3 separate regions of the Homo sapiens genome follow, and regions 1 and 3 are each linked to region 2. Evidence: promoter capture Hi-C in 16 types of primary human blood cells and fetal thymus (Javierre and others, 2016). All regions are on one chromosome and are shown on one strand. The core of a region is centred on a gene start or on the middle of the fragment in contact, and the rest is flanking DNA. Distances in the headings are between cores, read along the strand shown. Region 1 has its middle 18 kb from the start of LINC02098. Region 2 holds the start of TP53AIP1 (tumor protein p53 regulated apoptosis inducing protein 1). Region 3 overlaps LINC02725 (long intergenic non-protein coding RNA 2725).

What was found. The method cuts DNA at HindIII sites, captures the fragments that hold promoters and counts their contacts. A CHiCAGO score of 5 or more calls a contact.
Region 1: a fragment that was not itself captured here is called in contact with the fragment with the promoter of TP53AIP1 in region 2 in 3 of 17 cell types (total B cells, M2 macrophages and naive B cells); the score reaches 6.9 in total B cells.
Region 3: a contact is called between a fragment that was not itself captured here and the fragment with the promoter of TP53AIP1 in region 2, in 7 of 17 cell types (total B cells, naive B cells, naive CD8 T cells and 4 more). The highest score is 12.3, in total B cells.

What each region holds. Positions count from the first base shown.
Region 1 is chr11:128,188,347-128,192,328 of GRCh38, forward strand. No RefSeq gene overlaps it. Among named protein-coding and RNA genes, the nearest start is that of LINC02098, 18 kb to the right of the region's middle. The HindIII fragment of the contact is 2,899 bases long and covers 1-2,883 here.
Region 2 is chr11:128,941,502-128,945,282 of GRCh38, forward strand. It overlaps TP53AIP1 (tumor protein p53 regulated apoptosis inducing protein 1), which reads right to left and starts at 1,370. Exons shown (of 4, transcript NM_022112.3): 1 at 1,293-1,370. The HindIII fragment of the contact is 8,104 bases long and covers 1-3,781 here.
Region 3 is chr11:128,168,598-128,172,818 of GRCh38, forward strand. LINC02725 (long intergenic non-protein coding RNA 2725) reads left to right here. Exons shown (of 6, transcript NR_183639.1): 4 at 616-749. Among named protein-coding and RNA genes, the nearest start is that of LINC02098, 38 kb to the right of the region's middle. The HindIII fragment of the contact is 429 bases long and covers 1,353-1,781 here.

The DNA of each region.
Region 1 (3,982 bases), core at 184-2,683, 750 kb before region 2:
AAAACAAACAAACACGTATTCTAGAGAAGGAACCCTGTAACCTCTGAGGTGTCAAGGGCATGGAGACAAGTCAGGCAGGATGGCAGGAAGAGGACAAGGAGGCAGCTCTTCCCGACAGAGGGAGAATTGGCTGTGTCTCTAGGAATGTGGATGAAAGAAATCTAACTTGGAATGCCTGGCTTCAAAACTCAGCTGCCCTGTTGACTGTGCTCTGTGATGTGAGGCTTTCAGAAATACCTGAATTCCACCAGCCAGGATGTCCTGAAGTGTTCTAAAACCTCACCCTTCCCTCAGAAGTGTGGACTGCAGCTTCATTCAGCATTCATAAGGCTGGTTCAACGTCCAGCTCTGGAGAAAGCAAGTGCTTCTTATGTAACGTGAGGCACGTCTCCAGCAGCAGCCACCTCACATCCCAGCCCCGCACATCATGTCACACATTCCTGACTCCTCACACTACCCTAAAAAATGTGTGTTATCGAAGATTGATGTTCCCTGCCTTTGAACTCAGCCTAGGCTTTTATATGCTATTAAGGACAAGGGTAAAACCCGAGTCCCACTGTGAAAGTCATTCCAGTTGTCTCCATGGTCCATTTTCCCAGCAGGGTCACTTTGGCACACAGAGAAAGCGAAGGCCTGGGAACAGACTTGCAAGGAATTATGGAAAACATATTTGGCTGAGACACTTTGCTTGACTTCTACAATTTCCATTGTCCCTGCCCATGTTTCCAAATGACAAATGTATCTCCAATTGAGACACTGCAAAGTGCCTCGTATATAGTAGTTATTAATTATATGTGATATAAAATTATATATACATATACGCATGTAATTATGCATGTTTTTATATGTAATTATGTATACATATATAGTATGCATATGTGTATATATACACATATAGTATGCATATATGTACATATACATATATACATATATACATGTATGCATATGTGTATATATACATATAAATACATATATACAAATGTATATGTATATATACAATGTACACATGCATATGTATATATAAATATACATATACATGTATATGTATATTTGTGCATATACAAATATACATATACATGTATACGCATATAAAACATGCATATATATTAACATATTCATATGTTAATATAAAATATGGATATGTGTATATATACACATTATATAGATATATATAAAATAGAGGCAGAACTGACTTTTCTCTGCTTTAAACTTTACTGTAGCTACCAGAATGCTTTTGCATATAGTAGGATCTTATTAAGCATCTGTTGGTTGATTGACTAGCTAATTGTCTAGCTGGTGGGCAAGAAGAAGTAACTTGTCTTCGTATCACAAGGCCAAAAGTCTATAACAAAATGTTAAAGTAAATTCACCAAAACTTCTATTCCAAACAACAAGAAAAATATCTGGAACATATACAAAATTAAAGAGACAAGAAAGAAAGAAACCAGTAAGTACCTTTTTAGTCTAGAAATCTTTTTATTTAAAAAAAAGTTATTTTCTTATTTATTTATATGGCTCCAAACCTAGAGATCAGAAGGTGTTGTATGACTGGCTGGGGATATCAATGAAACAGATTATGATGTATGCATGAAGTGTGCATGCAGGCCAAAGTAGAACTTGATCCTGTGCCTCTCTGACAAAATAGGTGCTACTCACAGCTTTTACTTCCCTTTTGAAAAGGGCACTTCTCAATGAGGGGAGAAAGGGCACTTCTCAATGAGGGGAGTAGGCCAAGGGGGGTCAAGTTTCAGGACAATGTTTCAGCTCTACATGGGGCCTAGAGCAAAAGATCATAACGCACGTTTAGGTCTACACAAGATGTTTCTCAAGAAATGTTTTTGTTTAAAGTTTGTTTCCTACAATTCTCTCACGCACGTGCATGCACGTGCGTGTGCACGCGTGCACACACACACACACACACACACACACACACACAGCTTGTAGACTCTTCGTTATGGGGAATGTCAGGAAACCACACCCTGAAAGATTTTCTCTGTCTTACAATATTAAGGGATCATGACCATATTAAAGTCCCTTCCAGTACAGGGTTTGTCCATGTGAGCTTCTGAGAACAGGCGAGCTGTGGTTTTCTCACTAGCACAGAAGAGGTGAGAACACAGCCTTGGAACCCCTCCTTCTCACCACCGACCCTCATCAAAGGGCGTATGCAGTGCTCACAACCAGTCCTGGATGAGAGGGCTTCAGGCACTCAGGAGAACCAGTATCTAGACCACAGAGCAGCAGGGAGAGTGTGGCCACCTAAAGATGTGAAGGCACCGTAAAGACCCACTTGAATCTTTGCTCACCTCAACGCCATCCAACAATTGAAGCCTGGGCAAAGTGAAACACCCATCTCCTGATTCAGTCTCTTGGCTCTTGGTGAGCCAATGCTCACCTCTTGGCTTGAAGTCAGAGTGAGGGGTGTCAATAGGACTCCCTTATGTCCCACTTTCCCCACATTTCAGTTCCTGGCCCTGGACCCCACTCTCCACTTGACTCCATCCCAGATAGCTGATGCTGGTTCTCCCACATCTCCCCTATCAGGCAGCCAATGCTGTTGCCTAATTTAGCACAGAGTAAATTTATTTTGCCTTTATACTTTTACAATATGTTTAAAAAATGTGGACTCTGTTTCTCAGTTCAAATGTGATAATTGATTATGTCACGTTGAAAGATCAGTTATCTGTGATCTCCTGAAATAGACATATTAATGTTTGAAATTTCTGAAATGATAACACATTTCAAATAGCTTTTTAAAAAGATTACCATTCAGTTGCATGTCCCTGAACTCCTGTGGCAGACAATTCTACCATTTTTCATTTTCTTCCTTTTGCTATGAGGTGGCACTACGTGACCTAGATTTGACCAATGGAATAAGGGTGAAGCTTATATATCAGAATTTCTGGCCTGGCCCCCGGAATCCCATGATCTGCTCTCTGCTTGTTCATGATTTAGCAGATTGAAGAGAATCTGGAGAACTGCAACTCCCTGGAGTCCATCGAGTCAGCAGATGGGGGACTTCTGAGTCCCCACTTCAACAAATGTGATACAATGGACGAAGTATCACTTCTCCACCATTATGGACTGACGTTGTATACAAATATGAACGAGAAGTAGATCTTGCTCCATTAAGCTTCTGAAATGTTAGCATGATTTGTTACAGCAGTGGGCCTTTATTGAAGAATCCTAGCCCATTTCTAGAAATTCCCGTCCTGACTCTGATCCGCTGCACAAAACTCACAAGTTCTCTTGTCCCTAAGGCTATTTCTTTGTGGCTTTATGGTCTTGACCTTCCCTAGCCTCACTGAGCTGTTGCCTGAGCCCCAGCTTTGACAAGAAGTAGCTATCTGTAATATCTTTATATAAATAGCCGGGGCTGAAAGAAAGACTGTGGGAAAAGAGAAAATTCTCCTCCCATACTCATCACTTCCCTCCTCTTACACCCCTGGTTTTAAGTGCCCATATTTTCTAGGTCTGAAATCTCTGTACATCTCTCCATAGAAACCTGATGATTTGTGGAATTATTGTTTAATTTCCTATTCTTTCATAAAAATTTGAGTTCATGCAGTTAGGTAAATATTTATTAAGAATTATCTGCCAAGTGTTCAGGTACTATATTTTTAATTTACTTTAAAAATAATGTACTTTATAAGAACAGACACAGTTTTATTTGAAGAGGTTAAAGAAATCGGGGCAAAAGAAGAAGGCAGAAGAAAGCTCACCTGCAAAATACACACAGTATGACCTGATGAACATGTGAGAGGTAGTCCACAAATTTGACAGTAATACATTTACTTCTTGAAAATAATGTAATTCAAAATCAAAATATTTGGGGATATTTTTGATATTCCATATTTTGTCCTTTCAGGTATTGGAGGTCCGCTTAAATGTGTTTTTCCATTCTGAATGGATATTGAAAAGCTCTCGAAAGCACAGATGCCTGGGCCACCACCAGCTCCTTAAGTCAGAATCTCTAAGGCAG
Region 2 (3,781 bases), core at 120-2,619:
CTTTCATTGCCTTCTTCTGTGATAATGCCCCTGGGCCCTGTACCCATTTCTCCCTTGCCAGCTGGCATGATGTTTAGCCCTGTGCAGAGGCAGGGGCCTCTCCCCGGTTCCGACATTTCTTTCTCTGCTTGCCCCGGCTGCTGGGGGGACATGAGGGACACTTGGCCCTGTTCTCTCTTCAGCAATAATTAGTCCCAGCCCAGGTTCCTGGCCTGCTGCTCCCTGAGGAGGGTTTGCCAGTGCCAGCCCGTGCTTCCTTGTACCAGGACTTGGTCTGCTGGGACCCAGTGGAAAGCCCACGGCTGCCGCCCCCACCCACCTTCCCCTGCTTGCCAGCCACAGTCACCAGCTGTAGACTTGTGTGGCTGTGCTGCGGAAGCAGATCTGGGTGGAGGAGGGCCCCACGCACAGACGTGAATATGAAGGGACCCTCTAGAGGTTGTGGCAAACACAGGTGCCCCGCCCCATGCCCTGTCTGCAGTCACAGCCCTTCCTACATGGAGGGTGCTATCATCAATCTTCTGGGGGGCTGTGGACACTCTGCATCCCCATACCTGTGGCAGTCCTGGCACACGGTAAGCTCTCAGTAAGTGTGGTGAGTCACTGCTGAAGGAACTAACAAATAAACCTCCCACCACCAACCACAGGTAGCTGGGGCAGAACTAGGGAACTGCTGAAAGGAGGCTGGTGAACCCTGCCATGACATGCCCGCTGTGCCCAGGACCCAGGCTCCCACAGCTCGCGTCCTTCCTCTATCCCAGATCCATTCAAAGTGAAGTGGCCTCCATACAGGCTTCCCTAGGGGCCCTGCTCAGTGTCCATGAGGCCACCATGCCGCCGTTCACCAGGGGACGTGAGAAAGGGGCTGGCCTGTGGACCAGGACTGACCCAGGTCTGAGCCCCAGCTCAGCGGTCGGCTAGCTGTGCGAGCTTGCGCAGTAGCTCCCCAAGTGTGGCTCAGGACGCACAGCATCGGCGTCAGCATCGCCCAGGAACCTGTTAGAGATACACATTTTTGGCCCCAACCTGCATCGACCAAGTCAGAAATTCTGCAGTGTGTGTTTTCGTAAGTCCTCCAGGTGACTCTGATGTACTCTCAGGGTTCAGAACCATTGAGAGAGAGCAGTTTAGCTGACCTCCTCCAGGCCTCACCTGCGCATGGTCACGACTGTACTTTCCGCACACAGTCGCCGAGATGCGTGTGAAACCCCAAGCACAAAGCAGAGTGAATCGCAGTGGCCAGAGCATACCTGAAGCACCAGCGCTGGTCCCCTCCCTCCCCCTCTCCTCACCTGCCTCCTAGGAGTCGGAGGGTCCGTGGAAATGGTCTCCTCCTGCACATCTGTGCTGCTGTGACTGGGTGCAGGTCTGAGCAGAGGCTTTCGGAGTGAGCTGAGCAGGCGAGCCCGAGCACGGCCTCTCAGGGAGCGAGCCCATAGGCTGGGGAGCCGTCCCTGGAGATGCCCCTGGGCTCCTTGCGGGGCATGGCTGAGTTCCTGCCTGTCCTTGGCAGGCCCGCAGTGGTGGGGTGGCTCAGGCAGTTACCCTTTTCACAACCAGTGCTGCTGGGGGTGAAGGCAACGGGTGGGTGAGCACGGACAGTGTGAGCCACGTGGCCGGGAGCTGGGCCAGCTCGCTGTATGTGCACATCGTTTCCATGTGTGCAGCAGAAATTGGCGTCTCTGCACAAAGCTGATTTTAGTCTTTCTCACCTTTTCTTGCTCAGCTTAAAATAGGCCTCTCTTCAGGGACAAGGTGGCCTTATACCAAGCCAAAGTGCTGAGGGCGCAGGGAGACCCGCGAGACAGGGCCCCCTGAAGTCCTGGCGGTTTCTAGCCAGCCTCTTGAAATTGACTTGAAGGTGTTTACCTTGCAGATTATTTTTTCCAACTTCCCACACTCTGCTTCCCGCACTCTGTCCTTCCTCAAGGCTGGCACGCTCATCAGTTGACTTCATCTCTCCCTAATGGCAAGGCCTGACCCAGAAAGAAATGCAACTCAGATCCCGGCTCAAATGAGGCTGGGAAAGCTGATGCCTGTAAGACCGACAAAGACGGTGCAAGGTGAGGTGAACGCCGCTGTGTCTGGGTGCCGGGCTCCCTTGTCGAGTTGACCCTGAGTCTGCATCAGCTCAAACGCAGTTCCCGGTTCCCCACTGAGATTCCCACTCCCGCCTGGAGGGGAGACGTGCCTGCCTTTTGAATGAAGCGTTGCACACTAGACATAGTATCACAGGCAGAATTGTCATTTTTAGCCTTTTTACATGTTGCCAACTTTCAGACATACTATTCCGTTTTATCCCTCCAAATTCCTCAAAAGCTGCTTCTATTTTGGAGCTCTTTCTTGCCAGTGCTGGGTAATTTCTCCCTAGCCATGTTTTTATTGTAGAGAATGGAAACCTGATGTGATGAACACTCTGAGTAGAAATCCCTGGGGGCTCGCAGTTAACCGGATAAGACATCTCACCCTGAGAAACGGTCCCAATTTCCTTTTAAAAATTCATTGTCTCTCTGAGATACATACATATTTCCTTGTCTCATTCCAGAATCAAAAGTTCTAATGTTGCAAAGAATAATTTTTGTCCAAATATGTTTTCTTCCTGGTGTTCCAGAGAGTCTGGGATAGCAAGAGGTGTGGAGCTTTGGTCCTCGGGTGACTCTGATTCCATCGTTCCTCCAGCAACCAGGGAGCAATCACTGCTGGGCAGGGAACACCTGCTTCCTCCCTGGGCTTCCAGCCTTCCCCTAGCAATCTTTTTTTTTTTTTTTTTTTTGAGACAGAGTCTCACTCTGTCACCCCGGCTGGAGTGCAGTGGTGCCATCTCAGCACACCGCAACCTCCAGCACACTGCAACCTCCACCTCCTGGGTTCAAACAATTCTCCTGCCTCAGCCTCCGGAGTAGCTGGGATTATAGGCACCCACCACTACACCCAGCTAACTTTTGTATTTTTTAGTAGAGATGGGGTTTTACCATGTTGGCCAGGCTGGTCTCGAACTCCTGACCTCAAGTGATCTGCCCACCTCAGCATCCCAAAGAGCTGGGATTACAGGCATGAGCTACCGCACCTGGCCCCCAACACTCCTTTTTAAGACCCATTTGAAAATAATGACAAAAACCACAATTACTTTTGCACCAAGTTTAACCACAGTTTACCAGTGTGCGGTTACTGTGGCTTGAACATTGTTATCCATGCATGGTACTTCTCTTAAAATTTGCTCCCATGCAATCAGAACACTTCTATACAGCCTGTCTCCTTAGATAGACTTGACCATCCTTCTCTGCTCTTGCATCTACTGCTTGGGGCGAGGGCAGGGTCTGGCCCCTGGGGATAGGCCAGACAGGCTCACCAATTGGACAAATGGATTCAGGTCAGCTTTGTAGACTTGGCCTATTCCCATCTCTTGACACAGCGGGAAAGTCTTGCTTCCTGCCAATTATCCTCTGCTAAGCCATATTCAGCATTTCAGTTTTTATAAGAGAACCATGAATTCAAGGGTATTGGGCTTAGTCTGAGCTACTAACAATGGGTTACTTTTCTTACTTTTGCCTATTAGAGCTTGGGGACAGAGCTCCTCCAATTAGACCCTCAAAGCAACAATGAGTGAACAGCAGGCCAAGATCCAGGCATTCCCAGGCCTGGCCTAATGTCACCCTAGTCCTTGACCCTGCCTGCTGGACTTTAGGACATGAAGGGGTTAGACATGGATGAGGTTAGAGAGGTGTTTGCATGCCAGAAGACGGTGAGTGTCCGGGCCACATCGAGGCGCTGGAACATCCTG
Region 3 (4,221 bases), core at 317-2,816, 770 kb before region 2:
AAGTAAACCAGAGAAACAAGAAGGAAGAGAGAGAGATGAATTGGGTGCATTGGCAAAGCCAGATAATGTTAGAATGACCAGGCCATGGGAAGAGTCAGGTTCAAAACATACTTAGAAGCCACTGGAGACTTTTAAATGGGCATAGGAGGATCTGATTTGTAGTTTAGAATGATTTCTCTGGCTGCTGCGTGTAGAACAGATCCTATGTAAGGGAGCAAATGTGGAGGCAGAAAAGCTACTGCAGAGGTGATAACATTAGCTAAAAGATCACAGTATCTGGGGAAAGGGTGGTTGCGGTAGAGAGAGTAAAAAGTAGTTGGTTTCAGAATACATTTTAATGGAAATGGAATAGCAGACTGATGATTGGATAATGGGAATTGAGGGAAATCAAGGAATCCAGAATGACTTGTAAATTTTTGTTCTAAGAAATTGAGTGGATAATGATGGCATTTACTTAAATAGCAAATACTTGTGGAGGTAAATTCTGGATATGTGGGGCAACCAAGGGTTTTGTTGATGCCATGTAAACTTTGGCATGCCAATTAGATACGAAGAGATACTGAGTGGAAAGCTGGATACTCAGGGGACCACAGTCTTCTGTTTCCTGGATTTCAGGTCCCTTTTAAACTGAAGCATAGTGAGAACAAGTGTAAAGCACAACACAGACGGAAGATTGCACCTTAGCTCACTGCCCCGTGCACCCCGGTTACACCGTCTAAGAAAACACTCTGGATTCAATCCTTGGAAAAGTAGGTAGGAATTTGCTTTTCATGGAATTCAATCTGAATGGTTTATAAAAGAATCAAGTCAGTTATTCATGTGGCAGCATTATGTGCCCCTAAATTCTCTGATTTCCATTAACTAATCTCAAGTAAATAACAATAGGCAATGTGTCCAATATTTTGATCTCTCCAAACTAGTAAGAGGCTCAAGATCAGAATCAATTCTTTGCAGAAATTCCAATCTCTTCATCACTAACATGGTATTTACTCTCAGTATGTGCTGAGCTACCACTTCTGGAAGAGTCTTTCCTGGTTAATTACTTGAAACCTGTTGCATTGGGAATTTCTCAGAAAGTCTGCCTTGATGAGCTTTACTCAAGAGCCGCAACTTCACGGATCGGACAACAGAAAAGACTTCGGCAGTTACCAAATCTGAAGTACTCATTGTGCATGCTAGCAATCTGGGACTAATAAGGTTAAATTGTCTGAGACCTCAAGGTGGAAGTGACAGGTGGGTCTAGAACTCAAGTTTACCAATGACAGTCCAGTGTTATTGTCATTATCCTTTAGAATTGTTCATTTATTCATTCATCACACACTTATGAAAGTCCTATTATGTATTATATACTAAGCTTGAAGACCAAAACAAATCAGTAAGATCCCTATCTTAAAGACTCTTAGATCTAGTACATGACTTAGTATAGGTGAAGAATTTTAATATAAGACTCAGTAGATGCTATAATAAAATAATGAGCAAAACTATATAAAATCCCAGAGAAAGTTGAAACTTATTCTGTCTTGGATCTTTGGAAAATCCTAAAGAAATTTGCGAACTTTTATAGGGAGTCTTATATAATGAAGAAACGTTTACTAGGCAGAAAATGGAGGGAGAGGTAGTTCAGAAAGGGATAACAACAGAGAAATTCAAAGTAGACAGAAGTGTGAATCATGGGGGAATGGAGGAAAGTGAGATTACAGAGGGGGTTTGGGGACAGACAGTACAAGCCTGGTAGACCCATCTAGGGAATTCGGAGTCTAGGAGGCCAGAAAGAGTCATGAAGCTTTGAAAGCAGGAAAGTGACAAGTTCAAATTTGTTTTAAAGCTGCTTTGGCTACAGCATAGAAATTGAGGGCTGGGCATGGTGACTCACGCCTGTAATCCCAGCACTTTGGGAGGCCGAGGCGGGCGGATCACGAGGTCAGGAGATCGAGACCATCCTGGCTAACACGGTGAAACCCCGTCTTTACTAAAAATACAAATAATTAGTCGGACGTGGTGGCGGGCACCTGTAGTCCCAGCTACTTGGAAGACTGAGGCAGGAGAATGCCGTGAACCCAGGAGGCGGAGCTTGCAGTAAGCCAAGATCGGGCCACTGCACTCCAGCCTGGGCGACAGAGAGAGATTCCATCATCTCAAAAAAAAAAAAAAAAAAAAAAAAAGAAATTGAGCAAAAGAAAGAGAAGCTGTCGATGGGGTGGTAGCTGTATGTTCACAGACATGTGCACCATATTGCTATGCTGTTGCAGTTTTGGAAGAGCGCTTGTGCTTCTGCCACTAAGTACTCGCACAGTTTTACATTAAAAATCTCTTATTGAGAGCTTACTAGGAGCAAAACAGCAAGGAGAGTCCGGCATGGTGCGGAGATTTCCATCTTCTTGCCCAGGAAAATGTTTATAAGGAAAAAGAACTAAAGAGATTCAAAGTGAGGACAAGGCACTGTTGAAGAAATTAGAATGGCTTTTTGGAGTAAATAAAATTTGGCATGGAGGGGTGATGGATATACAGGACTTTTGTAAGTAGAAGAGATTGACTGCTCTGACCAAAATGTCTTCCCTAACGCGCCCACTAAAATGCAAGCTAAAAATTGAGATTAGGGCCAGGCGCGGTGGCTCACACCTATAATCCCAGCACTTTGGGAGGCCGAGGCTGGCGGATCACAAGGTCAGGAGATCAAGACGATCCTTGCTAACACGGTGAAACCCCGTCTCTACTAAAAATACAAAAAATTAGCCGGGCGTGGTGGCGGGTGCCTATAATCCCAGCTACTCAGGATGCTGAGGCAGGAGAATCACTTGAATCCAGGAGGCGGAGCTTGCAGTGAGGCAAGATCGCGCCACTGCACTCCAACCTGGTGCCCCAGCGAGACTCCGTCTCAAAAAAAAAAAAATATATATATATATATATGTAGAAATTAGAGTGTCTATTTCTAACTTCTCTTCACTATTTCCTTCTTAGAAGTCAGAATGAAAGAAGTGCTCTAACAGTGTCGTCAACCTCGATTAAGCCTCAATCAAGCCAAAATTTGTGCTTGAAAAACCTAAAGAGGAGAACTACCACTGTTTATTTTTGTTACATGATGGCAAACAGTATGAGTCATGTTTCCATGGAATTGACTAGCTGCAGGGGCAGGTAGAAACTCAGCCAAAACAATAGAGTTAGAATTCTAAGGCTTTGGCGTGCACTCAACCTGACTGTAGATAATTCAGCTAATTTTTCCTTCAAGGTTTCCAACCATAAGCCCCTAGGAATAAAGCACTATCTGATTGTCTCTGGCCATTTTAAAGTTCGCACCAACAGGTTGGTCTAGATAGGCTTATTTTATTTTGAAACTAAGCCCAAGTCCAGTTTGAGTTAATGTCAGAAATATAACCCAAATCATTAATCAGTCAATCTATTTATCAAAGCTTGCCCCATCTGTAAATAATTAGTTGCAGCCCATTTTACACTGTGGGTAAATAAAGTGTTTCTATTGCTCTCTTGGTATTGTTTCTGAAAAGCCATTGTTGTCACCTCTTATATATGGCCATGAGCAAGCTCTCAACAGCATAACTGGAAGACCAAAGAAAGAAATTAACTGAGCCATCCTGCATTAGTAAGGAAGGTGCTGATAGATAGCAGCAAAATCAAACAAGTTAGGAGTGGACCAGACAAGAGGGCCTTCTCTTTCAGTTACGAATGCATCTGGCCTGTGTCCATGGCTAGATCATATATCTGACAATATCCTCCCTTTTAATGCTTTGCAGATCCAAGGTATAGTATCATACCCTAAGACTGAACTCTCCAGGGAAATTATGTCAAGCCATAGCCAAGAAAGTAGGATTGTAAAAATCACCCCAGGAACCAGCTGCCTGGATTTCACCTTCAGAAAACAAGGGAGAACATGGGCCAAAAGGTGGCGCTGTGAGACTGAGAATAATGCCCGATGCTGCACTTTAGTCTCAAGTCTCTGAAAATATGCTCAGCACTTACCCCAGGGGGAAAAAAAAAAAAATAGAAGTTAGCTTTATTTTTAGAATTTATCTCTGTGCACTCAGGATGGACTTAAGATTCCCATAAACTAATCTTCCTTGTTGATTATGTGTAGACAACAGATTCCCAGTGTGGGCAGGAAACAAAATAATTTTTATAAAGCCTCTGCGTCAAATGTATTCATTATTTGGATCTTTTGACCTGAATGGCAGTATTATTTTATAAGAATGGAGAAAATCAACATGGCTT